Regions from separate parts of the Homo sapiens genome. Here all the other regions are linked to region 1. Evidence: promoter capture Hi-C in 16 types of primary human blood cells and fetal thymus (Javierre and others, 2016). All regions are on one chromosome and are shown on one strand. The core of a region is centred on a gene start or on the middle of the fragment in contact, and the rest is flanking DNA. Distances in the headings are between cores, read along the strand shown. Region 1 holds the start of SAMD9 (sterile alpha motif domain containing 9). Region 2 overlaps CDK6 (cyclin dependent kinase 6). Region 3 overlaps CDK6 (cyclin dependent kinase 6). Region 4 overlaps CDK6 (cyclin dependent kinase 6). Region 5 overlaps CDK6 (cyclin dependent kinase 6).

What was found. Contacts are between HindIII fragments. The CHiCAGO score rates a contact against its expected background, and 5 or more counts as called.
Region 2: a contact is called between a fragment that was not itself captured here and the fragment with the promoter of SAMD9 in region 1, in 4 of 17 cell types (total CD8 T cells, M0 macrophages, total CD4 T cells and 1 more). The highest score is 7.5, in total CD8 T cells.
Region 3: a fragment that was not itself captured here is called in contact with the fragment with the promoter of SAMD9 in region 1 in 1 of 17 cell types (M2 macrophages); the score reaches 5.8 in M2 macrophages.
Region 4: a contact is called between a fragment that was not itself captured here and the fragment with the promoter of SAMD9 in region 1, in 1 of 17 cell types (fetal thymus). The highest score is 5.2, in fetal thymus.
Region 5: a contact is called between a fragment that was not itself captured here and the fragment with the promoter of SAMD9 in region 1, in 1 of 17 cell types (fetal thymus). The highest score is 6.5, in fetal thymus.

What each region holds. Positions count from the first base shown.
Region 1 is chr7:93,115,261-93,120,461 of GRCh38, reverse strand. It overlaps SAMD9 (sterile alpha motif domain containing 9), which reads left to right and starts at 2,483. Exons shown (of 3, transcript NM_017654.4): 1 at 2,483-2,599. The HindIII fragment of the contact is 4,352 bases long and covers 1-2,689 here.
Region 2 is chr7:92,609,538-92,614,738 of GRCh38, reverse strand. It overlaps CDK6 (cyclin dependent kinase 6), which reads left to right. Exons shown (of 8, transcript NM_001145306.2): 8 at 1-5,201. Among named protein-coding and RNA genes, the nearest start is that of FAM133B, 22 kb to the right of the region's middle. The HindIII fragment of the contact is 162 bases long and covers 2,820-2,981 here.
Region 3 is chr7:92,632,601-92,637,801 of GRCh38, reverse strand. The region is part of intron 5 of CDK6 (cyclin dependent kinase 6); the gene reads left to right. Among named protein-coding and RNA genes, the nearest start is that of FAM133B, 45 kb to the right of the region's middle. The HindIII fragment of the contact is 5,319 bases long and covers 1-5,162 here.
Region 4 is chr7:92,676,877-92,682,077 of GRCh38, reverse strand. All of the region lies in intron 4 of CDK6 (cyclin dependent kinase 6), which reads left to right. Among named protein-coding and RNA genes, the nearest start is that of FAM133B, 89 kb to the right of the region's middle. The HindIII fragment of the contact is 3,494 bases long and covers 543-4,036 here.
Region 5 is chr7:92,809,651-92,814,851 of GRCh38, reverse strand. All of the region lies in intron 2 of CDK6 (cyclin dependent kinase 6), which reads left to right. Among named protein-coding and RNA genes, the nearest start is that of CDK6-AS1, 24 kb to the left of the region's middle. RefSeq lists enhancers at 4,673-4,782, 4,898-5,042, 4,271-5,201 and a cis regulatory region at 4,965-4,975. The HindIII fragment of the contact is 1,118 bases long and covers 1,499-2,616 here.

The DNA.
Region 1 (5,201 bases), core at 1,234-3,733:
GTATCATGTTTGTTATTTCTTTAAGTTAGAATTCACCTTTCTCTAGTGCCTTTTTGATTAGCTTAATAATAAACCTTCTGAATTATTTTCCTGGCAATTCAGAGATTTTGTCTTGGTTTGGATATATTGTTGGTGAGCTGGTGTGGTATTTTGGGGGTGTTCAAGAACCTTGTTTTTTCATATTACCAGAATTGTTTTTCTGGTTCCTTCTCATTTGGGTGACTGTGTCAGGGGGAAGATCTGGGACTCAAGGGCTACTATTCAGATTCTTTTGTCCCACAGGGTGCTCCCTTGATGTAGTGTTCTCCCACTTCCTCTAGGGATGGGGCTTCCTGGGAGCCAAACTGCAGTGATTGTTTTTTCTCTTCTGGGCCTAGTCATCTAGCAGAGCTACTGGACTCCAGACTGGTACTGGGAAGTGTCGGCAAAGAGTCCTGTGATGTAATACATCTTCAGGTCTTTCAGCTGTGGATACCAGCACCTGCTCCAGTGGAGGTAGCAGGGGAGTGAAGTGGACTCTGTAAGGGTCCTTGGTTATATCTTCGTTAAATGCTCTGGTTTTGTGTTGGTTGGCCTCCAGCCAGGAGGTGGCATTTTCAAGAGTGCATTAGCTGTGGTACTATAGGGAGGAAGCAAACTTGACCTAGGGTCATCTAGTTATATATTCATGTTTCTGAGGCAGTGGGCAGAATATGTCCTTTGTCTTGCAACCAGGGCAGGTAAAGAAAGACCAACAGGTTGGGGCAGGCATAGGTGTGGCTGAGCTCAGACTCTTATTGGGTGGGGTCTGCTGCACTTGCTGTAGGGGGCGGGGGTGTGGTTCCCAGGCCAATGGAGTTATGTTCCCAGGGGGATTATGGCTGTCTCCACTGAGTGACATAGGACACCAGGGAAGTGGGGAAAAGCCAGCAGTCACAGGCCTCACCCCATTTCCACACAACCCACACTCCTAAAGGCCAGTCTCACTCCCACTGTGCCCCTGCCAACAACATCGAATCTATTTCCAGGCAGTCGGTGACCAGGGCTGAGAACTTGCCCCTGGCTATCAGCCTCCCTGCTGAGAAAGCAAGCAGACTCATGACTTTTCTTTTTGGCATCTCAGAGAAACTGCAGTGGCGATACAGTTCCTTCAAAGGGTCTGTGAATTCTCTTGGCTTTCCTGGTATGTTGCTGCAGTAATTCTTGAAGCAAAAGTTCATGATGTGAGTCTCCACATGCTGTCCTGTCTGTCCCAGCAGGAGCTGCAAGCTAGTCCTGCCTCCTCACCCTCACAGAACCACCAGAATAATGTTTGACCAAATATCTAGGCACTCTGTGGCCCGGTCAAGTTGACCCATAAAATTAACCATCACACTGGTCCCCATGCAAAGTGAAACCCAGGTTTTGGAGTTCAGGCCCAGGGTCCCCTTACGAGGAGGGCTCCTGAGGGTGATAAGTGTAATGGTCATATCTAGGCTGTCCTTCATAGCCACTTTCTTTCTTCCTAAACCTCAGGATTTAAGAGCACTGGCCTGAAACCTGGATTCGAATCTCTGCCATGTATTAGTTATGCAAACTTTAGCCATATTATTTAATCTCTATGCCTCAGTTTCTTCACCTTTAAAATTGAGATAAAAATAATCTCTACCTCAGGAGATTGTTGTGAAGAGTAATTAAGTTAATATGAAACATTTAGAACAATGCCTGGTACATGGTAAGCGCCCAATAAATATTTTAAAATAAATGTTTTTAAATGTTTTCATCTAAAACCAGTGTGAATCAGTTGTGGGATGTGGAAACCAAAAGCTAATTGAGCACACACAATAAATATCAGTACTTGCTGTTAGTTTTTAAAATATCAGCTATTTTTGTTGCTCTCACTCAGGCAGTTTTCTCTCTGGCCCTGACACTGACCTTAGAAAAGATAAATCTCTACAATGTGACCATCAGGTCTGCTGCAGCCCTGGTCTGCTCTGCAATAAATGAATTTAGCACTTATTGGGGTGCTCAAAGAAGTCCTATCCCTGAAAGACATTCTTTACACTTTAGGAAAACAGGAATGGACAGTAACTCCACCCTTAAAGGCCAGTGAAATATTGACCTAGAGTATCTCCAACCTGGTGCTCTACAAGGCTGGGACTGCAATGTAAACTCATATTCCCAAGGGATCAATTAAGCCAGAATATCCCACAGTTTGTCTATAACAAGACAATGGGGCTTTCTGCAGCCCTCAAAACTCTCAAGTGAGGAAAAATTGTTAAGCCTTCAGATTTTAACCAAGCAGACCAGAAGGTGGTATATAGCCATAGCTTATTAAAAAGCATTTCAGATAGAAAAGGCGGTGCTGTAATTTCAGATCTGAGAAATGAAACTGAAACCAAACCTATATTCTTCCTTCCCCAACCTCCCAGTTGTTAAACACGCCCTGCTGTTTCTGAGCCAATTAGAGCTTGCTGTGAGACAGAAGCAGAGAATACATAGACTTCCGTTAAAACCAGAATGAGGAAAATACTTTTCTCTAGCATCGTAGGAGGAAGAAAACAAACACATCAGATATTTTCAGCACTAAAAGAGATGGTTTTCCCCACATATATGTAAAAGAAATTTGCAAGACTACTGGGTAAGTACAATATCTATTATTAATATTGTTCTTACTATCTATAGCAGCATTTTATTGAATAGAAAGAAATATACTTTTCAATTAGAAGCTTCAAATATACCTCAAAACAAAAAATAGTATTCTAAGCCTAGAAATTCTAGACTATTTGTTGCTCTGACAGCAGTCTGCTTTATATTAGTTGAAAAATTAGTCATAACATTTCATTAAAGATGCAGTTGAAAACTACAGACACTTTTATTGATGAACTCTCCCAAGGCATACAGCATCTTCAGAAAGAACAAACAGGCCAGGTGTGGTAGCCTGTAATTTGAGCACTTTGGAAGGCAAGGACAGGAGAATTGTTTGAGGCCAGGAATTCAAAATTAGCTTGGGCAACATAGCAAGACCCTACCTAGCAAGATTCCTACCAAAAAAAAAAATAGCTGGATGTGGTGGCACGCAGCTGCAGTCTAGCTACTTTGGAGGCTGAGGCAGAAGGATTGCTTGAGCCCAGGAATTTAAGGTTACAGTGAGCTGTAATTGTACCACTGCACTCCAGCATAGGCAACAGAGTGAGACACTGTCTCAAAAACAACAACAACAACAACAACAACAACAACAACAAACGGAAAGATAGATAAAGAACAGGCAATGAAAACTTAAAAGTACTTTACTTTAATCAAATACAACTTCCACCATCTACTCTAAGAAATAGGTAGCTTCCAGAAAACAAAACTCTCTGAGAGCTTCTCAGATATTGTTGTCGGATGACATACATAGGAAGACAGACAGACAGATAGACTACTATGGGAAGTCTTTGGAATTAAGGCAGCTTTATGTTCCTGGCAAAAATACTAGGTTTATGTCTAATTTCTCCCCAAAGCAAACAGTAAGATAATGCAAGACGGTTGGAGGATCACATTTCTGAATAAAGGTCTGACCTTCAACTCCCTTCTAGAAAAGTTAACAAACCCTACAGTTTAACACCAACCAGAGTTAAAAAATGTATGTGGGTTCAATCAGTAACAAATAGTGTTTCCTACTAAGATGCTCAGAACCAAATTTTCAGGTCAGTTTTTAAAGTATACGGAATCAAAACCAGTAATTTTAGGTACTAATTTTACTCCCTCATTTCACCTTTTCTCCCCCTACCCTTATTTAGCCTTCCCCATGATTTCTTTACCTAAGGGTTTTAATATATGTGTGATCCTATATTACTTTCTAAATTACCTAAAAAACATTTTGGAACGAGAGGGTATAAAGAAATCATTAATATGTAAAATATCTATGAACAGTGGCATAAATACCTATGAATGCTGGCATATATTTTCTCCAAGAGTGACATCATCAACAATTTTTTTAAAATAATGTATTGAAAGGCACAGCTATCAATAATCTGACAAAAGCTTTAGGGGAAGAAGTGTGAAAGTGTAACCTGTTCAATGACATTTGAAATATTCATAGTGTCTCTAGTAGAGAAAACAGTCAAAAGTCACTTCTTTATTATTTGCTTACTTTCCCAACCAAATGTTCAGGCCCAGTTCTCCATCCCCCACACTCTTATATGAGAACCTGACTTTACGTTTTCACATATAATGGTATGTAGTTCTTGCATGAATCAAATAATCCATCTAATTCACCAGTCTCATAATCTAGTTTATGACATATCACCAGAGACTAAGGACTGTGTCTGTAAAACTGTGAAAGGTCCAAGTTGATGAAGGAAGTCAGGGAGACCCTAGGAAAAGGGTACTGGTGGGAAGCGGCGAGATGGGGGATGAGAGCCATAGGTATGAGGCCTCAGGAGCCAGCGCACGCTAGCAGCACAATAATCGGGGACCCCTGCTTTATGTGTTAAATAGTGTGGGTGCAACAAAAGTGAGCATACTTTCATAGGGTGGAGTAGACGTGACTCAGTAAATGGATACAAGAAAGTGACTCAGATAGAATGGTTACTAGACGAGGGTGTAGTCAGTTTTTAGACAACTCTAAAACCAGTATTGAATCAACACTGAGTGGGATGCAGAAGTCAAAAGTTCATAATCTGAGACTGCAATAATAAACACCTAGTAAAACTTTAGGACCTCACATACCATTGAATTCACAATTATCCTTGATTCATAACACACCATCATCTTTTTTATGCAAGTATCTCTTTTATTTTATTCATCCGTTTTATTTTCTAATGTATTTTGGAGGCATTATTGGCTTTTTAAATACAGTATAACTTGTATACAATGAACAAACTTAAGGGTAAGCCTTTATGAAATTTTAATATGTACTTATCTGTGCAACCGCTAGCCATATCAAGATATAAAATATTTCCATCACCCCTTCCCAGAAAATATCCACCCCCCAACATCAGTCTGACTTCTATGACAGATTACTTTTGCCTATTCTTAAACTATATAAGTAGAATTCTACAATATGTTTTCTGTTGTAACTGGCTTCTTTCACACAGTATGATGTGATATTCATTCATGTTGTTGCCTGTATCAGTACTTTAATAATTTTCATGAGAATTGCAGATCCAAAGAGTAGGTATATATTTAACTTCACAAAAACTGATAGTTTCTTGAAGTGGCTAAAACAATGTACATTCCCACAGACAGCATATGAGAGC
Region 2 (5,201 bases), core at 1,651-4,150, 510 kb after region 1:
GTGTGTGCATGTGTGTGTGTGTGTGTGTGTGTGTGTGTGTGTATGTGAGAGATTCTGTGATCTTTTAAAGTGTTACTTTTTGTAAACGACAAGAATAATTCAATTTTAAAGACTCAAGGTGGTCAGTAAATAACAGGCATTTGTTCACTGAAGGTGATTCACCAAAATAGTCTTCTCAAATTAGAAAGTTAACCCCATGTCCTCAGCATTTCTTTTCTGGCCAAAAGCAGTAAATTTGCTAGCAGTAAAAGATGAAGTTTTATACACACAGCAAAAAGGAGAAAAAATTCTAGTATATTTTAAGAGATGTGCATGCATTCTATTTAGTCTTCAGAATGCTGAATTTACTTGTTGTAAGTCTATTTTAACCTTCTGTATGACATCATGCTTTATCATTTCTTTTGGAAAATAGCCTGTAAGCTTTTTATTACTTGCTATAGGTTTAGGGAGTGTACCTCAGATAGATTTTAAAAAAAAGAATAGAAAGCCTTTATTTCCTGGTTTGAAATTCCTTTCTTCCCTTTTTTTGTTGTTGTTATTGTTGTTTGTTGTTGTTATTTTGTTTTTGTTTTTAGGAATTTGTCAGAAACTCTTTCCTGTTTTGGTTTGGAGAGTAGTTCTCTCTAACTAGAGACAGGAGTGGCCTTGAAATTTTCCTCATCTATTACACTGTACTTTCTGCCACACACTGCCTTGTTGGCAAAGTATCCATCTTGTCTATCTCCCGGCACTTCTGAAATATATTGCTACCATTGTATAACTAATAACAGATTGCTTAAGCTGTTCCCATGCACCACCTGTTTGCTTGCTTTCAATGAACCTTTCATAAATTCGCAGTCTCAGCTTATGGTTTATGGCCTCGATTCTGCAAACCTAACAGGGTCACATATGTTCTCTAATGCAGTCCTTCTACCTGGTGTTTACTTTTGTTACCTAAATAATGAGTAGGATCTTGTTTTGTTTTATCACCAGCACACAGATTGCTATAAACTGTTACTTTGTGAATTACATTTTTATAGAAGATATTTTCAGTGTCTTTACCTGAGGGTATGTCTTTAGCTATGTTTTAGGGCCATACATTTACTCTATCAAATGATCTTTTCTCCATCCCCCAGGCTGTGCTTATTTCTAGTGCCTTGTGCTCACTCCTGCTCTCTACAGAGCCAGCCTGGCCTGGGCATTGTAAACAGCTTTTCCTTTTTCTCTTACTGTTTTCTCTACAGTCCTTTATATTTCATACCATCTCTGCCTTATAAGTGGTTTAGTGCTCAGTTGGCTCTAGTAACCAGAGGACACAGAAAGTATCTTTTGGAAAGTTTAGCCACCTGTGCTTTCTGACTCAGAGTGCATGCAACAGTTAGATCATGCAACAGTTAGATTATGTTTAGGGTTAGGATTTTCAAAGAATGGAGGTTGCTGCACTCAGAAAATAATTCAGATCATGTTTATGCATTATTAAGTTGTACTGAATTCTTTGCAGCTTAATGTGATATATGACTATCTTGAACAAGAGAAAAAACTAGGAGATGTTTCTCCTGAAGAGCTTTTGGGGTTGGGAACTATTCTTTTTTAATTGCTGTACTACTTAACATTGTTCTAATTCAGTAGCTTGAGGAACAGGAACATTGTTTTCTAGAGCAAGATAATAAAGGAGATGGGCCATACAAATGTTTTCTACTTTCGTTGTGACAACATTGATTAGGTGTTGTCAGTACTATAAATGCTTGAGATATAATGAATCCACAGCATTCAAGGTCAGGTCTACTCAAAGTCTCACATGGAAAAGTGAGTTCTGCCTTTCCTTTGATCGAGGGTCAAAATACAAAGACATTTTTGCTAGGGCCTACAAATTGAATTTAAAAACTCACTGCACTGATTCATCTGAGCTTTTTGGTTAGTATTCATGGCTAGAGTGAACATAGCTTTAGTTTTTGCTGTTGTAAAAGTGTTTTCATAAGTTCACTCAAGAAAAATGCAGCTGTTCTGAACTGGAATTTTTCAGCATTCTTTAGAATTTTAAATGAGTAGAGAGCTCAACTTTTATTCCTAGCATCTGCTTTTGACTCATTTCTAGGCAGTGCTTATGAAGAAAAATTAAAGCACAAACATTCTGGCATTCAATCGTTGGCAGATTATCTTCTGATGACACAGAATGAAAGGGCATCTCAGCCTCTCTGAACTTTGTAAAAATCTGTCCCCAGTTCTTCCATCGGTGTAGTTGTTGCATTTGAGTGAATACTCTCTTGATTTATGTATTTTATGTCCAGATTCGCCATTTCTGAAATCCAGATCCAACACAAGCAGTCTTGCCGTTAGGGCATTTTGAAGCAGATAGTAGAGTAAGAACTTAGTGACTACAGCTTATTCTTCTGTAACATATGGTTTCAAACATCTTTGCCAAAAGCTAAGCAGTGGTGAACTGAAAAGGGCATATTGCCCCAAGGTTACACTGAAGCAGCTCATAGCAAGTTAAAATATTGTGACAGATTTGAAATCATGTTTGAATTTCATAGTAGGACCAGTACAAGAATGTCCCTGCTAGTTTCTGTTTGATGTTTGGTTCTGGCGGCTCAGGCATTTTGGGAACTGTTGCACAGGGTGGAGTCAAAACAACCTACATATAAAAAGAGAAAAAGAGAAACTTGTCCATTTAGCTTTCATAAGAAATCCCATGGCAAAGGGTAATAAAAAGGACCTAATCTTAAAAATACAATTTCTAAGCACTTGTAAGAACCCAGTGGGTTGGAGCCTCCCACTTTGTCCCTCCTTTGAAGTGGATGGGAACTCAAGGTGCAAAGAACCTGTTTTGGAAGAAAGCTTGGGGCCATTTCAGCCCCCTGTATTCTCATGATTTTCTCTCAGGAAGCACACACTGTGAATGGCAGACTTTTCATTTAGCCCCAGGTGACTTACTAAAAATAGTTGAAAATTATTCACCTAAGAATAGAATCTCAGCATTGTGTTAAATAAAAATGAAAGCTTTAGAAGGCATGAGATGTTCCTATCTTAAATAAAGCATGTTTCTTTTCTATAGAGAAATGTATAGTTTGACTCTCCAGAATGTACTATCCATCTTGATGAGAAAACTCTTAAATAGTACCAAACATTTTGAACTTTAAATTATGTATTTAAAGTGAGTGTTTAAGAAACTGTAGCTGCTTCTTTTACAAGTGGTGCCTATTAAAGTCAGTAATGGCCATTATTGTTCCATTGTGGAAATTAAATTATGTAAGCTTCCTAATATCATAAACATATTAAAATTCTTCTAAAATATTGCTTTTCTTTTAAGTGACAATTTGACTATTCTTATGATAAGCACATGAGAGTGTCTTACATTTTCCAAAAGCAGGCTTTAATTGCATAGTTGAGTCTAGGAAAAAATAATGTTAAAAGTGAATATGCCACCATAATTACTTAATTATGTTAGTATAGAAACTACAGAATATTTACCCTGGAAAGAAAATATTGGAATGTTATTATAAACTCTTAGATATTTATATAATTCAAAAGAATGCATGTTTCACATTGTGACAGATAAAGATGTATGATTTCTAAGGCTTTAAAAATTATTCATAAAACAGTGGGCAATAGATAAAGGAAATTCTGGAGAAAATGAAGGTATTTAAAGGGTAGTTTCAAAGCTATATATATTTTGAAGGATATATTCTTTATGAACAAATATATTGTAAAAATTTATACTAAGGTCATCTGGTAACTGTGGGATTAATATGGTCGAAAACAAATGTTATGGAGAAGCTGTCCCAAGCAAACTAAATTACCTGTACTTTTTTCCCATTTCAAGGGAAGAGGCAACCACATGAAGCAATACTTCTTACACATGCCTAAGAACGTTCATTGAAAAAATAAATTTTTAAAAGGCATGTGTTTCCTATGCCACCAATACTTTTGAAAAATTGTGAACCTTACCCAAAACCATTTATCATGTCCATTAAGTATATTTGGGTATATAATTAGGAAGATATTTACATGTTCCATCTCCACAGTGGAAAAACTTATTGAGGCTACCAAAGTGTGCCAAGAAATGTAAGTCCTTAGAGTAATTAGAAATGCTGTTTTCCTCAAAAGCATGAGAAACTAGCATTTTCATTTCTTATTTACTCCCTTTCTATATCAATGCAATTCACAACCCAATTTTAATACATCCCTATATCTCAAGCATTTCTATCTTGTACTTTTTCAGAAAATAAACCAAAAATAATCCTTTGGTCTCTCTATCTTCTGACCTTTGTAAGCAACAGAAATGTAAAAACAGAAGGGGTCCAATTTTTACACGTTTTTTTCTCAAGTAGCCTTTCTGGGGATTTTTATTTTCTTAATGAAGTGCCAATCAGCTTTTCAAAATGTTTTCTATTTCTCAGCATTTCCAGGAAGTGATAACGTTTAGCTAAATGAGTAGAAGTGGACTTCCTTCAACATATTGTTACCTTGTCTAGCCTTAGGAAGAAAACAAGAGCCACCTGAAAATAAATACAGGCTCTTTTCGAGCATCTGCTGAAATACTGTTACAGCAATTTGAAGTTGATGTGGTAGGAAAGGAAGGTGACTTTTCTTGCAAAAGTCTTTCTAAACATTCACACTGTCCTAAGAGATGAGCTTTCTTGTTTTATTCCGGTATATTCCACAAGGTGGCACTTTTAGAGAAAAACAAATCTGATGAAGACTAAAGAGGTACTTCTAAAAGAGATTTCATTCTAACTTTATTTTTCTGCGCATATTTAACTCTTTCCTAGCACTTGTTTTTTGGGATGATTAATAGTCTCTATAATGTTCTGTAACTTCAATATTTTACTTGTTACCTAGGTTCTGAACAATTGTCTGCAAATAAATTGTTCTTAAGGATGGATAATACACCCATTTTGATCATTTAAGTAAAGAAAGCCTAGTCATTCATTCAGTCAAGAAAAAATTTTTGAAGTACCCAGTTACCTTACTTTTCTAGATTAAAACAGGCTTAGTTACTAAAAAGGCAGTCCTCATCTGTGAACAGGATAGTTTCGTTAGAAGTATAAAACTCCTTTAGTGGCCCCAGTTAAAACACACATACCCTCTCTGCTGCTTTCAAATTCCCTAGCATGGTGGCCTTTCAACATTGATTAAATTTTAAAATCCTAATTTAAAGATCAGGTGAGCAAAATGAGTAGCACATCAGTAATTCAGTAGACAAAACTTTTGTCTGAAAA
Region 3 (5,201 bases), core at 1,254-3,753, 480 kb after region 1:
CATTGGCCTTGTCGTTGGCTGTTATTGCATAGTAGATGTTGAGTTTTTAAATTTGATATTTGATCTTGACTTAACCTAAGTCTCAGTTTCTCCCTTTGAAATGAGGATAATGATATTTACTTAGCAGAGTGTTATTAGGAGTAAATGAGACAACATATGTGAAACAAAGCAAAGCAGCCCCTTTCCTGTAATAAGTGTTCAGTAAATTGAATTTATTATTATTATTAGCTGTTGATGTTGAAGAAAAGTTATTTACTCAACACTTTTTAGGTCACACTGGTTTTTATCTACTTAATTTCTTAAAAATAATGATCTTAAGGTGAAATTCTCTTACATATTTCCTTAAAATTCATTCAGGATTTTTATCTAGCCAAAAGTGATCAGAAGTTATTTTATAGTTTGAAAGAATCTGAATTTCATTTTCAAGGAAAATGTGTCCCTCAGTTACAATGCCAAGACTACGAGTGATGATCAAGAAGTCTAACTGGTCAGTAATTAAACTTTATATTGGAAGTAGACATTTATTTGCTTAATATTCCAAAATCTGACTAAATTGTTTTCTAAATTCAAAAGGAGTTTTTGAGTAAAACAGTCAGTTGCTATTTAACCCGTAGGTCTGTAAAACCTGGCAGCCCTCTGTGGCCACATAGTCTTAAGTACAGTATAGAAGAAATACCTCCCAAGGCTTTTGTTTTATGTCTACATATTCATCTCTTTCTAAAACCGTAAGTGTAGCAACATGTGGCTGCATTTTTAACAACTTTTATTGCACTTTCATATTAAAAAGCAATATACCAGCAAAATTTTTGAAGTTTTCATTTAGGAAAATACAATCGGGCTGGGCGCAGTGGTTCACACACCTAAATCCCAGCACTTTGGGAGGCCGAGGTGGGCAGATCACCTGAGGTCAGGAGTTCGAGACCAGCCTGGCTAACATGGCAAAACCCCATCTCCACTAAAAATACAAAAATTAGTCAGCATGGTGGCGCATGCCTGTAATCCCAGCTACTTGGGAGGCTGAGGCAGGAGAATCGCTTGAACCCAGGAGGCAGAAGTTGCAGTGAGCCAAGATTGCGCCACTGCACTCCAGCCTGGGCACTCCGTCTCAGGGGAAGAAGAAAACATATTTCATAAATATTTTATCTTTTTTAACATATATTTTTACCAAAATGTAATTATTTATTCCTGTACATGCTGTTTTTTATCAAATGCTGTTTCATTTCTTATGAGTGACATAAAGCCTTTGCCGGTGATATTTTTCTCTTATAGTTATAAAATCAAAAATATGACAGAGAGTTGTACCTCTCTAGAGAATGTATAATGCAAATGGATCTTATATATAATCATATCCCCTCAGCCTTCTCATTCTTGTAAGTTCATTTGCTTCATAAATAAACTAAATAGTTTGTACTGAAACCAGAAGTTGACCTTAATATTTGTGTTGGCTGGGCACAGTGGTGCACGCCTGTAATCCCAGCACTTTGCGAGGCTAAGGCAGCAGATCGCTTGAGCTCAGGAGTTCGAAACCAGCCTGAGCAACATGGCAAAACCCTGTCTCTACAAAACAAAAAATACAAAAATTAGCCTGGTGTGGTGGCATGCCCCTGTGGTCCCAGCTACTCAGGAGGCTGAGGTGGGTGAATGATTGACCCAGAAAATGGAGGCTTCAGCAAGCTGAGATCACTTCACTGCACCCCAGCCTGGGCAACAGAATGAGATCTTGTCTCAAAAAATAATAATAATAACAAATTTAAAAATATTTCTTATAACTTTTTTTTAAATGTGCTACGGATAGATTGCATTTAAATACTTGATAAAATAGTATTGTTTAGAAATCATGATTAGCAAAACTGATTACAGCTCCTGCTCTTATCACGTCCCTGACTATGTCTAAGTTACAGAATCTTCTCAGCCATAGTCCTCACCTAAATAAGGAAACGCATTTATCCCCTTATTTGTCATTTTCCTAACTTCATCATCTATAAAGTTTTCTTAGTGATCTTTTTAAATAGCACAGCACGGTATCATGGGTAAATTAAATCTAGAGATTTGGGCCAAAGATAGGACCAAAATAACAGCATTGAATTTTCCTTGCATATTTAGTCATAATGAAACAAGGAAAAGAAACCACAGGACAGAGAAAAAGGAGAAGGAAATACAGTATTAAGCAAAAATAAATAACTTTGGAACGAGTAACAGTTCATTCTATTTGTTCTTGATTGGTAGCCTTACTTTTACTGAGCAGGTTAATTTTATTTCTCAGCAGTTTTAACTGCTTCATTCACATGGTTTATTATTTTGTGTTATTTTCTTCCATGATATGGAGTACGACAGAAGCTGTGATATCTGTTTTTTAGCAGATGAGCAGAGATTAAGTGGCCTGCCTGCACTCTGGGATTTATTTGTTAATCAGTTACAGAGCCAGCACTAAGAGCTGGATCTTCTGTCTCCTGGTCTATACTCCTTTCCATAACATGTGGTAAAGTGCTTCTCCCTTGTTCTGAAGAAATCCCTACAGGGAACCTAACACTGCCCTGATCTGGAAACAACATTGTTACCTGACAGGCCGGTTTGCCAGGGTGACCATTCTTAAGTGTTTTAGGGAGCTAGGATTAATCTTTTTTTCCCAAGAGGAAGTAGCAATAAACTGTGCACCAAAAATAACGCTTTAGCTGCTAAATTCTGCTTAGTAGGTGGTTTCCCAAAGATGATCCAATGCAATGAGTCATCCCTCTGAGCACTTACTGCACATTATTTCTTTTTACTAATCCTCGGTGCTTTTGGTTGCATGTTTTTTAACCTTTAGAGCCCTCCTGGGAGGTTCAGAGTCTTCTCACTATGAATATAAAACAGACTCTACTACATCCCCCCACATGTCCCTCTTGTCCTTTACTTCCTATACTTTTCAAATCTAAGATAATCCATCACTTAGGAGAACAGTCAGGATCATGTCCAAAGATAAAAGATCAGCAGTAAGTTTCTCCAGAGTTAGCAGCAGCTCCATCTCATTCCCAGTATAAAAATCAAAAATGTAGATGGATGTAAGTCAATGTGTAGAACCCATATCAAGAAAACTATAAAACTTGATTGAGATACATAAAAATGACTTTCCTAGATATAGAGAATATTTGATTATTAGAAAGATATTAAATATTCCATTTTCCTGAACAGGAAGATTGAATAGTTGTAAGGATATAAAAGGTTTCCAAATTAATTCATAGGTTTATGCAACTCCAGTCAGAATTCCAGTGGGATTTCCTGAAATGCATTTGGAAGAGTTAAACTGGTGAAAATAGCCAAGAATTTTTTGTTACCAAAAAAAAAAAGTTATGAAGAGAAACTCCTGCTACCAAGCACTAAAATACATTATGCAACTACAGTAATAAAAATAATGTGGTACCAGCAGAAGTGACAGACATTAATGGAACAGAATAGAGAATGAGACTTGAAACCCTAATTTAGGAAGTGATGCAATTTATCATAAATCACAAATCTGGGAGGACAGAACGGCATATGCAACAAATGAGAATAGGGTAATTGGTCAATTTCATGGGGGAAAAATGGTAACCTGATTAGATTCTCACTATTCCTCACCACAGAGCAAATGACAGATGGCTTAAAGAGTTACATATTAAAAGTGAAGCCATAAAAGAATAAAGAAACTATAGGAAGTATCTGTGACCCTAGAATGGAGATATATTTTCAAAGCATTAAGAAGTCACAAACAAAAATACTAATATATTTGATTATATAAAAATTGAAAACTTTTGTTCATCAGAAAATAAAAACACTGCCAAGTTAAAAAGCATGTGATAATCTTGGAGAAAATGAATGAATATGACAAAGGTGTAATATCCTTAATGAATAAAAGAGCTCTTAAAATTAATTGGAAAGCCACTAGCACACCCCACTGTAGCTACACTACATTCCTATCACACTGTGTACATATCACAGTGCTAAATCATTTTATACTCATAATACAGTTCAGATGACACAAGACAGTATTAGAAATTCAGATCTTATTTTCCATTCACATATTCTTTGTCCAAAGGCAGTTTAAGGAAACTAACACATTACATTATGCTATAAATACTTCAGAACAGTTTGTCCACATTGACACTTCCATTTCCTAAAATGAAACCCTCGCTGGCCCACAGAGGGAAAAAAAAAAAAAAAAGGCTAGCTTTGTTAACCAGCTTTATTTCAACAAGCACATCCACATGGTAAGAACTTCCTCTGATGAGTCATCCACAGTTGTCAAACACCAACTTTCCTTTGTTTGGCCCATGCAGAAATCAGGTCTGTGGAAGCACAGTTCAAGAGTCTGAATCATTTAATTGTGTTTTATTCATATCTGAATTTGCATCTGTCACAAACCCAATGTGTCCACCGTGAAAAATTGCATCCTTCAAATATTACTGAACAAAAAACCCTATTCAAATAGGTCTGTTCTGTCTAGATTGTCTGTGAAATTTCTGAGGAATGTTGTGGGCTCTGTTTCCTGTACCAAATTGTTGAGTTATCACACATCATTGGATTCTACCCAAAGTGTGCTGGATAGGCATATTATATTCAGACAGGATACCAGTTGTCTTTACCATTCATAAAGGAAAAAGAAAAGATTACTCCTGCTCCCTGCCATAAGATATAAACTAAGAAGTGAAAATGTGTGTACCCATAGTTTTTTTAATGTGTCCTTGATTTCTTTTCTTCACCAAGATTTGAGTTTTATTCAGTCATAGCTTTGTTATGCACTTTCTTGTCACCCTGTACTTGTTCAAAACTAAGGACTATAGTCAAGACTCAGATCCTGCCCTGGGATTGGTGCCATCTTAGCTTGTTTGGAAAAAAAAAAAAAAAAAAAAAAAGATCTTTAGAGATACCATCATATCCATTTGTATATAAAAAGAGAAAAGAATGGAAGTGATGCTGTGTAATTTATTTTCATCTATTTACTCTATTTTCCAAATTTTCCACAATGCGTATATATTTTATAATCAAGATAATCTGTTACTTTTTAAATTTTTTATTTTTAATTTTTGTGGATACATAGTAGATATATATGGGGTACATGAGATGTTTTGATATAGGTATGCAATAATTTGTTATTTTTAACAGTACCCATGATGAATCATTCAAAATATAAATTCAGTAAATAAGCTTTTTGAAAAAGTTAAACTTGCTGTTGGGCCAGTAAAATT
Region 4 (5,201 bases), core at 1,040-3,539, 440 kb after region 1:
GGAATTGTCGGGATCTGATGGTGGCTTCATTGAAAGTCAAGAGAAGTAGGGAAACTGGGTAGGTAGCGATTTTGCTTACAGAGAGAAGAAATATAGGAAAAGCAAGTTTCAGAGGAATGACAATGCATGCATTTTGAATTTGAGATACTGGTAGCAGCACTAAGTAGTGATGTCCGGGAGACAGTTGGATTTGTGGGTCAGAGACTGCAGAGTTCTGAATACAGCATGGATTGGAGCGGGGGTGGGGACAGGCACATGGAGTGCTCCACAAGGATTGTGCTTCATGTAAGAAAAGTGACTGCCTGAGGATGTCGCCTTAGATTAAGCAATAATTTAAAAGAGACAAAGGCAGGAGGAACACTAGGACAGGACCGTAGCATTCTGCACTTAAATTGCTACACAGACACCACCCCTCCCTCCAACCCAGTTGTACTTCAGCCAACTCATTTAACTCATTGCTTTCCTAATTTGCGACCACACTGTCCAGGACTAACATGGTACCTCACAGAGTAGACATTCACATGATGAATTGACTGGAAGCTTACTTTGACCTAAAGGCTTGCTGTCTAGGCCTTTTGTAGGTAGATCTGCTTAGACATAGATAAAATGGGGGAGAGGTGTACGACTCAGTAAGAAATGGCAAGTGCCACTGATATCACAAAAGGTCAGAAACCTGGATCCCTGAATTCTACCTTTGCTGGTCCTTCAGTGAGTCATTTTCATCCCTCCCCTGACACGAGTACACAGCCCCCCTGTTTACTGAGTGGCTCTCTTCCCCCAAGATGCCTTTCCTCTCTACTTGGAGGGAACACCCATTCAGCTCATTTTCCCTGTGCCTTTCATTGCCCTGTGAGTCTTCTTACACAATCTCTGAAGCTAATCAGGTAGTGCTCTTCCCTCCACAGGATCATTTCCTCTGTTAAAGATACATGATTACTCAAAGATATTAAGTTATTATGGGACAGTATTGTCCTCATATTCTCCAGTCTAGGTGATTGCCTCTATCCATCTTCAGCACTGCCACTGGGAGTTTCCTGTGGTTATTGATGTATCTAGCTATCAGATAATTACTGAGCACCTTCCATGCATGACACTGTAAATGTATTGTGGCCAAGAAATGGAAAAGCTATAATGCAAGATAGAAAGGGTCAAGTACTATAGAAGTGCAGTGGAAGCTCAGAGAAGAGCCATTACTTCCAGCTGGGAGATCAGGAAAGGCTTTGTGGATGAAGCAATATGTGAGTGAGGCTTGAAAGATGGGTAGGATCTGGACCTGCAGAGACTCAGAGAAAGAGAATCCCAGAGAGAGAATCAGAGAACCACACCAGCAATAGCAGGTGATGGGACATCCACATATCTAAAGGGAGCCAGTGGCCCCATGTGAGCCAAGGCAGCTGTAGATGTGAGGAAATACAGCCCTTCTGCTGGTAATGGATGCATCAGAGCAGAGGTGAGGACAAAGTTATTGGCACAGCGCTCCCTGCTGTGAGACTCTCATCTTTGTATTGACCTCAGACATTTTTTTGCCATATGTCAAAACATCTCCTTCTAGCCCTTAGATTACAAATGGGTGAATTTGAGATGACTCCATTATTATTTTATGGGTATTTAATGCTTTTTTTTTTTTTTTTTTTTTTTTTTTCTGAGATGGAATTTCACTCTTGTTGGCCCAGGCTGGAGCGCAATGGTGTGATCTCGGCTCACCGCAACCTCCACCTCCTGAGTTCCAGCGATTCTCCTGCCTCAGCCTCCTGAATAGCTGGGATTACAGGCATGCACCACCATGCCCGACTAATTTTGTATTTTTAGTAGAGACGGGGTTTCACCATGTTGGTCAGGCTGGTCTCGAACTCCCAACCTCAGGTCATCCGCCCTCCTCAGCCTCCCAAAGTGCTGGGATTACAGGTGTGAGCCACCACACCTGGCCAGTATTTAATTCTTAATAGTTTCCATAACCAGTTAAGGTGTTATAATGAGAAGACTGTGCTTGGCAGAATTAGAATTCCAATTCTTTATAATATTCTTCATTTAAATATGTAATTTTGAAGAACTAAATTATGGCCGGGCACGATGGCTCACACCTGTAATCCCAGCACTTTAGGAGGCCAAGGAGGGCGGATCACTTGAGGTCAGGAGTTCGAGACCAGTCTGGGCAACATGGCGAAACTCTGTCTCTAAAAATACAAAAAATTAGCCGGGCATGGTGGTGCACGCCTGTAATCCCAACTACTGGGGAAGCTGAGGCAGGAGAATCACTTGAACCCGGGAGACCGAGGTTGCAGTGAGCCGAGATCACACCACTGCACTCCAGCTTGGGCTATAGAGTGACACTCTGTCTCGAAAAAAAAAAGAAGTAAATTTTGCACCTCTGTGAAAAGTCAGTGAAATTATCACTAGTTTTGATTTTCACTTCACACAACCATACTAGTTTTCTATAGGGAGAAAAACATATGTATTAGAAAGTTTTATATTGCTCTGATGCAAATAAACAGATTAGAGCACAGTTTAGAAAACCTTCACTTTGACAAAATAAAGATTCTGAAGTATTTCAAAGATTATATTTATATTCCTGATAAACCATTATCTATGTTTGTATTTGAGACATGTTGTTGAAGTGGGCCCGAGAAGGAGAATATCACCACACTGGAACACTCCATAAGTAATTACTAAACCAAAGGACAGCAAAGATATTTAACGATAACGTTGTTGGGTCCATAAAGTATATATGTTTTTTTAAATCTTCATTGCCATTGCCATATCATTTAGGGAGTCTTAAAATGTTAACAGAGGACACCTTATAGATTACCCAGTCCAAACATCTTCTTTAACAGATGAGAAAACTGAAACTTGGAGAAGAAGTTGCCACCCACGCTGGTTTCTCCATCTATAAACAGGATGTATCAGCCAGGGTCCCAACAGGAAATAGATGGCACACTCAAACTCAAGTAGTTCAAGGATTTCTTGACACAGGCATGATTTGCAGAGATGTGGGCTTAGGGGAACTCAGGGGATGGTGCTATGACCTGAGTCTTACTCGCAGTCAGTTCATTACCATTCCCAGGCCCTAGAAGAAGAGGGGAAGCAGTTACTGGAATCCAGGAGGAAGAAAGCAAGTAGAGCAGGCTTCCTGAGATGGACATTGACTTTGTGGTGGCAACACAGTCAGTTCTAGACAGCTTTGCTGGGAGGAAAATCAAAGAGTTGAGGATCCTGACCTCATGCTTCTCCTTCTCTCTGAATTCCTGCCGAGACTTCCCATTGGCCAAAGCCAGTAAGAAACTGGAGGCATATGGCAGATACAGGTCCATTTCTAGGGCAGAGACTATCTGGGGCAACAAAAAGAAGACATCCAGCACAGTGTTCATACCATGCTTTTCTGCCATTGTGGCCATATAATGAGGATGAATCAGATAACATCTAATTTTTTCAAGACCTTGGTGAAAGGGTACATGATAAAAGATTGTTAAATATAACATCAAGTGAGAGCGGTTTACTCTGAAATGTATTTTAAGTCAGAGTTGGCCTTGGCTGTACTTTTTCTTATACTATTATTGAACAGGTTCAAAAAAATGTGAATAGAGATCAAAGCAGTTTAAACAGATACATCCACTTGTGTAAATATCCTTGAACTCCCCCCTGCCTTCCGCTCCCCCTCCTGTTGCCACATCCATTCAGCACCTCTAGAGGCTGTTAATACATGTAATGATTGTAATAAACATGGTATTTGCTTTGGTTCCAGCTGGCTCCAATCACCAAACTCTGTCCATAATTCCTATTGTCTTTGCTTACTAGACAACTGCATTGTTACCATTAGTAGCGACTTTTGTTACGGATTTCTAAATGTTGATCTTTATATATTGCACTCATTGTTTTCCTCAACATGTTTTAAAATTTAAATTTACCATTATATTTTCTTTTTAAGGATATTTAGAATTATTAAACAGAACTTCTGGTAGAATTGATTATATTGTTGAGAACTTTCACGAGCTAAAACCTTGAAACAATTTTATTGATATTATTCATTCTTTATAAAGCTTTCAAATAAAAATAAGCTTCTGCTCATGCATGACTTAAACTGGTTTTAAGTTCAGCAGTCTTCCATCAGAAGTTTTTAGAGGCACAGAAGTATAATAATGTCTAAGCAAAGGGAATTTATATTTTACTGTCAGGAAAATTTGTTGCAATTTGTTCTCAAAAACTTGGATCCAGATTTAGTTGCAGTAGATATTTTAAATCCTATGAAATTACAGAAGTTGTCATAATTTGAGATAATTAAAATTTCAGTGACTTAATGTAGGGACTGAAAGACTGTGGTTCAGAAATTATAGAACAGCCAAGTAAATTAACAAATTAAAACTGGGGATGCTCTCTTGATATATAGAATAATATTACATAAACCAGGAAACAACTATTAGAAAATGCTATTCTTTTATATCTATTGCAAAATATAGTAGTTTGTTTTCCTTTTTTTTGAGACAGTCTTGCTTTTCACCCAGACTAAAGGGATACAATCTCACTGCAACCTCCACCTCCCAGGTTCAAGCAATTCTCCTGCCTCAGCCTCCCTATTAGCAGGGATTACAGGCGTGTGCCACCACACCTGGCTAATTTTTTTTATTTTTAGTAGAGACAGGGTTTCGCCATGCTGCCCAAGCTGGTCTTGAACTCCTGACCTCAAGTGATCCGCCTGCTTCAGCCTCCCAAAGTGCTGGGATTACAGGCATGAGCCACCACGCCTGGCCCAGTAGTTTGTTATTTTTAAATGTAGGCCCAGGTCATTGATGGGGTTATTTTATTAGAGAATTAACTAGAAATGTAAGTCTTGAACAATTTATACTTTCTTTTGGAATTGAATTCCTCAAAGATTGAACCAAAAATGATGTCTCTTTAGACAGATGTTGATAGTTTAAAATAGAGTGTAAGCATAAAGTTAGTCTAATTTCACTCTCACTTGGTTACAATGATTTACACAGACTAGAGCAAAATCTTAAGGATAAAAACGAGATATCTAAATTTTAGCTTTCATTGAACTTATTAAATGTGAAGTGATGAGTAGATGTCATATCATATAGAGAACTGGAAAGTAATGGAAACGCTTTTCTTTCTTTTTTTTTTTTTTTTGAGACGGAGTCTCTCTGTCGCCCAGGCTGGAGTGCAGTGGCGCGATCTCAGCTCACTGCAAGCTCCGCCTCCCGGGTTCA
Region 5 (5,201 bases), core at 808-3,307, 310 kb after region 1:
ATTTTCTTAATACATCTCCTGATTATATGTTCTTCACTTTGGAGACTACTATCTCTTTGGTGACTTCTTCCATCACCTTATTTCTGTTTATTTTCAGTCACCCAGCAAATTTACTAAATTCTCTCCTTTTTGTGTATGTGGGACGCCCTTTTGTAATTATGGGTTTATTTCTTTTACTGAGAAAGAATGGAGGCAAATATTTGTGATAGGTCCACCATTTTGAACTGGAAGTCTGATTACACTTCTTAAAATAAATTTTTGAATAATCAAAATGTCTTTTTTTTTTTTTTTTTTTTGCAATTCAGTTTGCTTTCCTGGTTGGGAGCAGAAGGGCTGCAGCCCAAGAATTGCTTATTACCTGCGGGAAGTTTTTGTTATGCAGCAGTTCTTAAATTTGGGTAATGTCAAAGGGCATGTGAACCAAGGAAGTTGTCTGCTAATTTCACCAGAAGCAAAAAAGTTTAAGAACAGCTGCTCTGGAGAAATATTGGGATCACATGAGATATACTTTTCCCCTATTTATTCCACATTCCTTAATTTAGAGGACAGTATAACCATCTGGAGAGGATCCATAATTGAAGAAAGAACATTGTTTCATTCTTCTGTTGCTGATTGCACCTGGCTATATAAATTCATTGTCATCTTCTAGGTTTTCATACTGTTGATATACCATCCCTGAAACCAACAGCTGATATAAATTGTAACATAGAAAAGCTAATTTGACATCATATTGGGAATGTTAGCCAATTGATTTTTCTTAAGGGAAACAAACTGAAAAAATAAGCCCACTATGAATTAATTCTTTGCAGGAAATTCCCATGTCTGATTATTTAAAAGAATAAATTCTGCATGCAAATGAATCATTACAAGCTTAATTGAAGCTTGCGGGATACTCAAGTTTACTCACTGTGGTGTGTTTTTGATGGAGACAGGAAGTGAAAAAGCAAGGTCTATGAGACTTTTTTTTCCTATGAAGTCTCAGCCAGTCTTTTAATGTTTCTCATTGAGAAACTTTGGTTGGGAGGGTAAATGACTCAAGGTATCTATTGCTGCTTAGCCGTTTTTAAGGGGGCATTTCCCCCCATGTTCCTCCCCTCCCCAAAATAGCTAATTATGTACTGGAAGTTTCAATACATTGTTCACAGTTTGTGAAGTCAGCATATTTCTGGAAGCTCACTGTGAATGTAATTCTTAACTGTACAAATGCTTTTGTTTCTCCATCTCTGCAGCTAGCTCTGTACTGTAAGGACACAATTCTATCGCTATTTTTTCCCTCACATTTGATGTGGTAGTTTGCATACAGCTGCAGAGTAGACAGTTACCTTTGAAAGGAACATTTGGCTGCTCTAATTTGATTAAAGAAAACCACCTCAATCATTTCTAGACTGAGAACGTTTTCATTTTAACTTGGCAGTAGGAGTTGGGAATGTACTCATTGCACTTAGATATGTGGGGGACCAGTTAGGGAACAAAACCAACTGCTTGAATGAAGAAAGCTTTGGTGCATTTTTTTTTTAAAAGCAAGCAGTATGATTCCCTTTCTGTTTCCCTCTCAAATTCTCTACAACCTTGATTTTCACCTCCATCTTCTTTTCACGGTTATTTACTTTGTAATTCCAGTAAACGAATTCTGGCAGGAATAGACTGCTACCCTAAAGTGATTTGTGATTTAAAGGACTTCAGGGTCCTTAAAAATTATCCCATTTTACATAGAAATAAAATCCCAAATCATGAATTACTATGAATTGCATATATTTTCTTGGCCACTGTTGAGAAAGGCAAAAAAAGTTGTTAGATCATGGGTGTACAGACCAAGGCTGGGAATTTAGTTGTAACTTACTTAGAAGAAAATTGCTCCTTGTCAGAAGGCTGCAGTCAACTCACATATATGCCCTTTGTTTCTGACATAGAAGAGGGTCTGATCACCAAATTAGTATGACAATTAAAAATAAATTCTGGTGATTGTGAATTGGCATCAACTTTATATATGTTTTTAGAAATGATTGAGCAGTGGTTAATGTCTGTACGGTAAACCATGAACAAACTTTTGAACCACAGCTCAGTAATTCAATATATGATATCCTTGTGAAAGGTACTGTGCTGTCATCTTAAAAAGTTTGAGTGTGGGCCAGGCACAGTGGCTCATGTGTGTAATCCCAGCACCTTGGGAGGCTGAGGTGGGAGGATTGCTTGAGGCCAGGAATTTGAGACCAGCCTGGGCAACGTAGTGAGACCTCATTTCTACAAAAAATATTTCCTAAAATTTAGCCAGGTATAGTGGCACTCACCTCTGGTCCCGGCTACTCTGGAGGCTGAGGTGGGAAGATCAAGGCTTGAGCCTAGGAGTTTGAGGCTGCAGTGAGCCATGATCACACCACTTGACCCCAACCTGGGAGACAGAGCAAGACCCTGTCTCAAAAAAAAAAAAAATTGAATGAGAAAATTTAAATTAAAAGTCTGAAGCTACACATGGGCCTCAGAAATAACAAACACTATTACTTATTGATTATTGGATATTATTGATTACCTAAGAGAGGAGGTCAAATGTGGGTTCACATTCCAGTTCTGCCACATGACTATGTGTCTTAACCCCATTATGCTTCCTACCTCTAAGCTTCAATGTCTTCATTTGTAAAATTAGGACACATATTAAGTGATGTCTCTGAAGTTAGGTACCTTTTAAGTGTTTTGTTTTGTTTTGTTTTGTTTTTTTGAGTTGGAGTCTCACTCTGTTGCTCAGGCCAGAGTGCAATGGCACCATCTTGGCTGATTGCAATCTCCACCTCCCAAGTTCAAGCGATTCTCCTGCCTCAGCCTCCTGAGTAGCTGGGATTACAGGCACATAGCTAATTTTTGTATTTTTAGTAGAGACAGGGTTTCACAGTGTTGGTCAGGCTGATCTCGAACTCCTGACCTCATGATCCTCCAGCCTTAGCCTCCCAAAGTGCTGGGATTACAGACATGAGCTGCTGCGCCTCGCCCTTTTAAGTGTTTGATACTTGTCAAGTACTTAGTTGCCTTACTTATTCCTCTCCTTCAGAATATTTTGTAGGGGGGTGGTTTTGTTAATAGGATTGGTGGCAGAACTTGACAAAATCTTCAAATTCTAATATTATGTGCATCTCTCATTCTCTTGGACAAAATGATTAAGTCCATTAGGAATCTCTCAAGTCTGCCTACTTTTTCTCTGGTTAAGTGTGACATTATATCAGGTAGTAGTTGCAAGGGCAAGGCATAGGTACTACGGACATAGGAGCTGTTCAACAAATGGTTGCTATTAGATGGAGTTACACTGTCATCTTGAATGCCACCTTCTGCCATCTTCAAGTGCTATAATTATTTCCACATTTAATCTCAAGACTGTTCACTCGAAGCCACCCCAGTTTGTTCTTCCTTCTGAGAGTCAAAGGCCAAGAAAGAATCTTTTCATTTTGTTTTTACACACGGTAAGGAGGGCGTAAATATTTTCAGCCACGTGTCTCAGTGTACAAGGATGGTGAAGGGACTAAAACGATGTTTGCCTAAAGTACCCTGCTACATTGGGGTTTGAGCACTCAGGATTTCTAGTAGATACAACATTATAACTGTAGTTGAATCCCAGGCTCGTTCACAATGCTTATTTATATAGCTGAAGAATGTCCAATGAGTAAAATACTGCAGAAAGCAATGCTGGAGACCTGTGGAAATTCTATGAGAAAATGCTGGGTACTGATTATTTATGTTACTTCAAATTTTCTTTCTCTCAATAAAGTATTATTTTGATATTTCTCCTATATAATTGCCTTTTTTTTTCTTTGGCGCTGGGGGGGTTCTCATTCTGTCACCGGGCGCGATCTCGGCTCACTGCAACCTCCGCCTCCTGGGTTCAAGCAATTCTCCTGCCTCACCCTCCTGAGTAGCTGGGACTACAGGCACGCACCACCATGCCCAGCTAATTGTTGTATTTTTAGATGGGGTTTCGCCATGTTGGCTAGGATGGTCTCAATCTCTTGACCTCGTGATCCGCCCACCTCAGCCTCCCAAAGTGCTGGGATTACAGGCGTGAGCCACTGCACCCGGCCTATAATTGCTTTTTTTGAAGTATATTTATATAGCCCTTTACTATTGAATTCTGCCCATCTACTTACTATTACTGTTTATCTTCTTATGTCACTTCCAACCTGGGTGACAACTTAAACATTCAAATCCAGTAAAATTATTGTATGTTTCTAATAAAATGCATAGAAGCTAGCCTGAGACTGAAGTTTTGTTTTTTAAAAAATATGTAATGAATTCATCACTTCTTTTCGTCATGACAGTTGTCTACTTCTTAAGTGCTGTTAATATAATTACGTTCACAGCAGCAGTGAGGGAGACTGGGGGAGGATTGTTATTCCCGTCTTGCAGATAAAGAAACAGACAACGTAAATGACTTGCTCAAGGTCAACTGTCTGCTGGCAGAGTCAGGACTAGACCACAAGCCTTTTGACTCCAGGGTGTTATTTCCCCTATTATATAGTTTTTCTACCTAATACTACAAGTGTTTCAGTCATGCAAAGGTCATTTGGATTTGACTGTTTTAGTAAGACCTGCTTGGCAAATTAAATGCACATAAACTGCATGCTGACAAAGGCATGCTGTTTATTTGAAGAGGAAGCTATCTTGACTTACTGGAAACTAGAGGTATAATGGCTTAATTCTGACAGATAGTAAATGATATACATATACACACACATACACACGCATATATATTTTCAAACAATCTATTTTCATAGCCATATCTAGAGACCAGCATATAGAATTGACAGTGTTAAGTAGTGTTATTTGTTAGGGTTCATGCTGCTTCTCAACTTGGTGGCAGTTAGCTTTCCATGACCTACCCTGCGTTACTGAGAAAAGGATGGAAGAGTAGCAGGTCAAAGGAAGTACGCATACCTTTGAATCTGGCACCAGAAGTGCTGACGAGGATGTTGCATATGCTCACGATGACTCAGCACTTCCTGGTTTCTCTTTTCAGCCACACTCTGGCTAATGATATCGAATGACCTTGGTTCAAACTGAGAGTTTCAGGGAACCTTTGGTTTCTTCATCATCAAAAATTTGCAGTCTTTCCTTTCTGTTTTTAATTAGTTAATGGTACTAGGTATGAACCATTATATTTCACACTGGATTAGATACTTTTTGTTCTTAAGATGGTCACAATCTAAGGAAGTAGCTTTGAC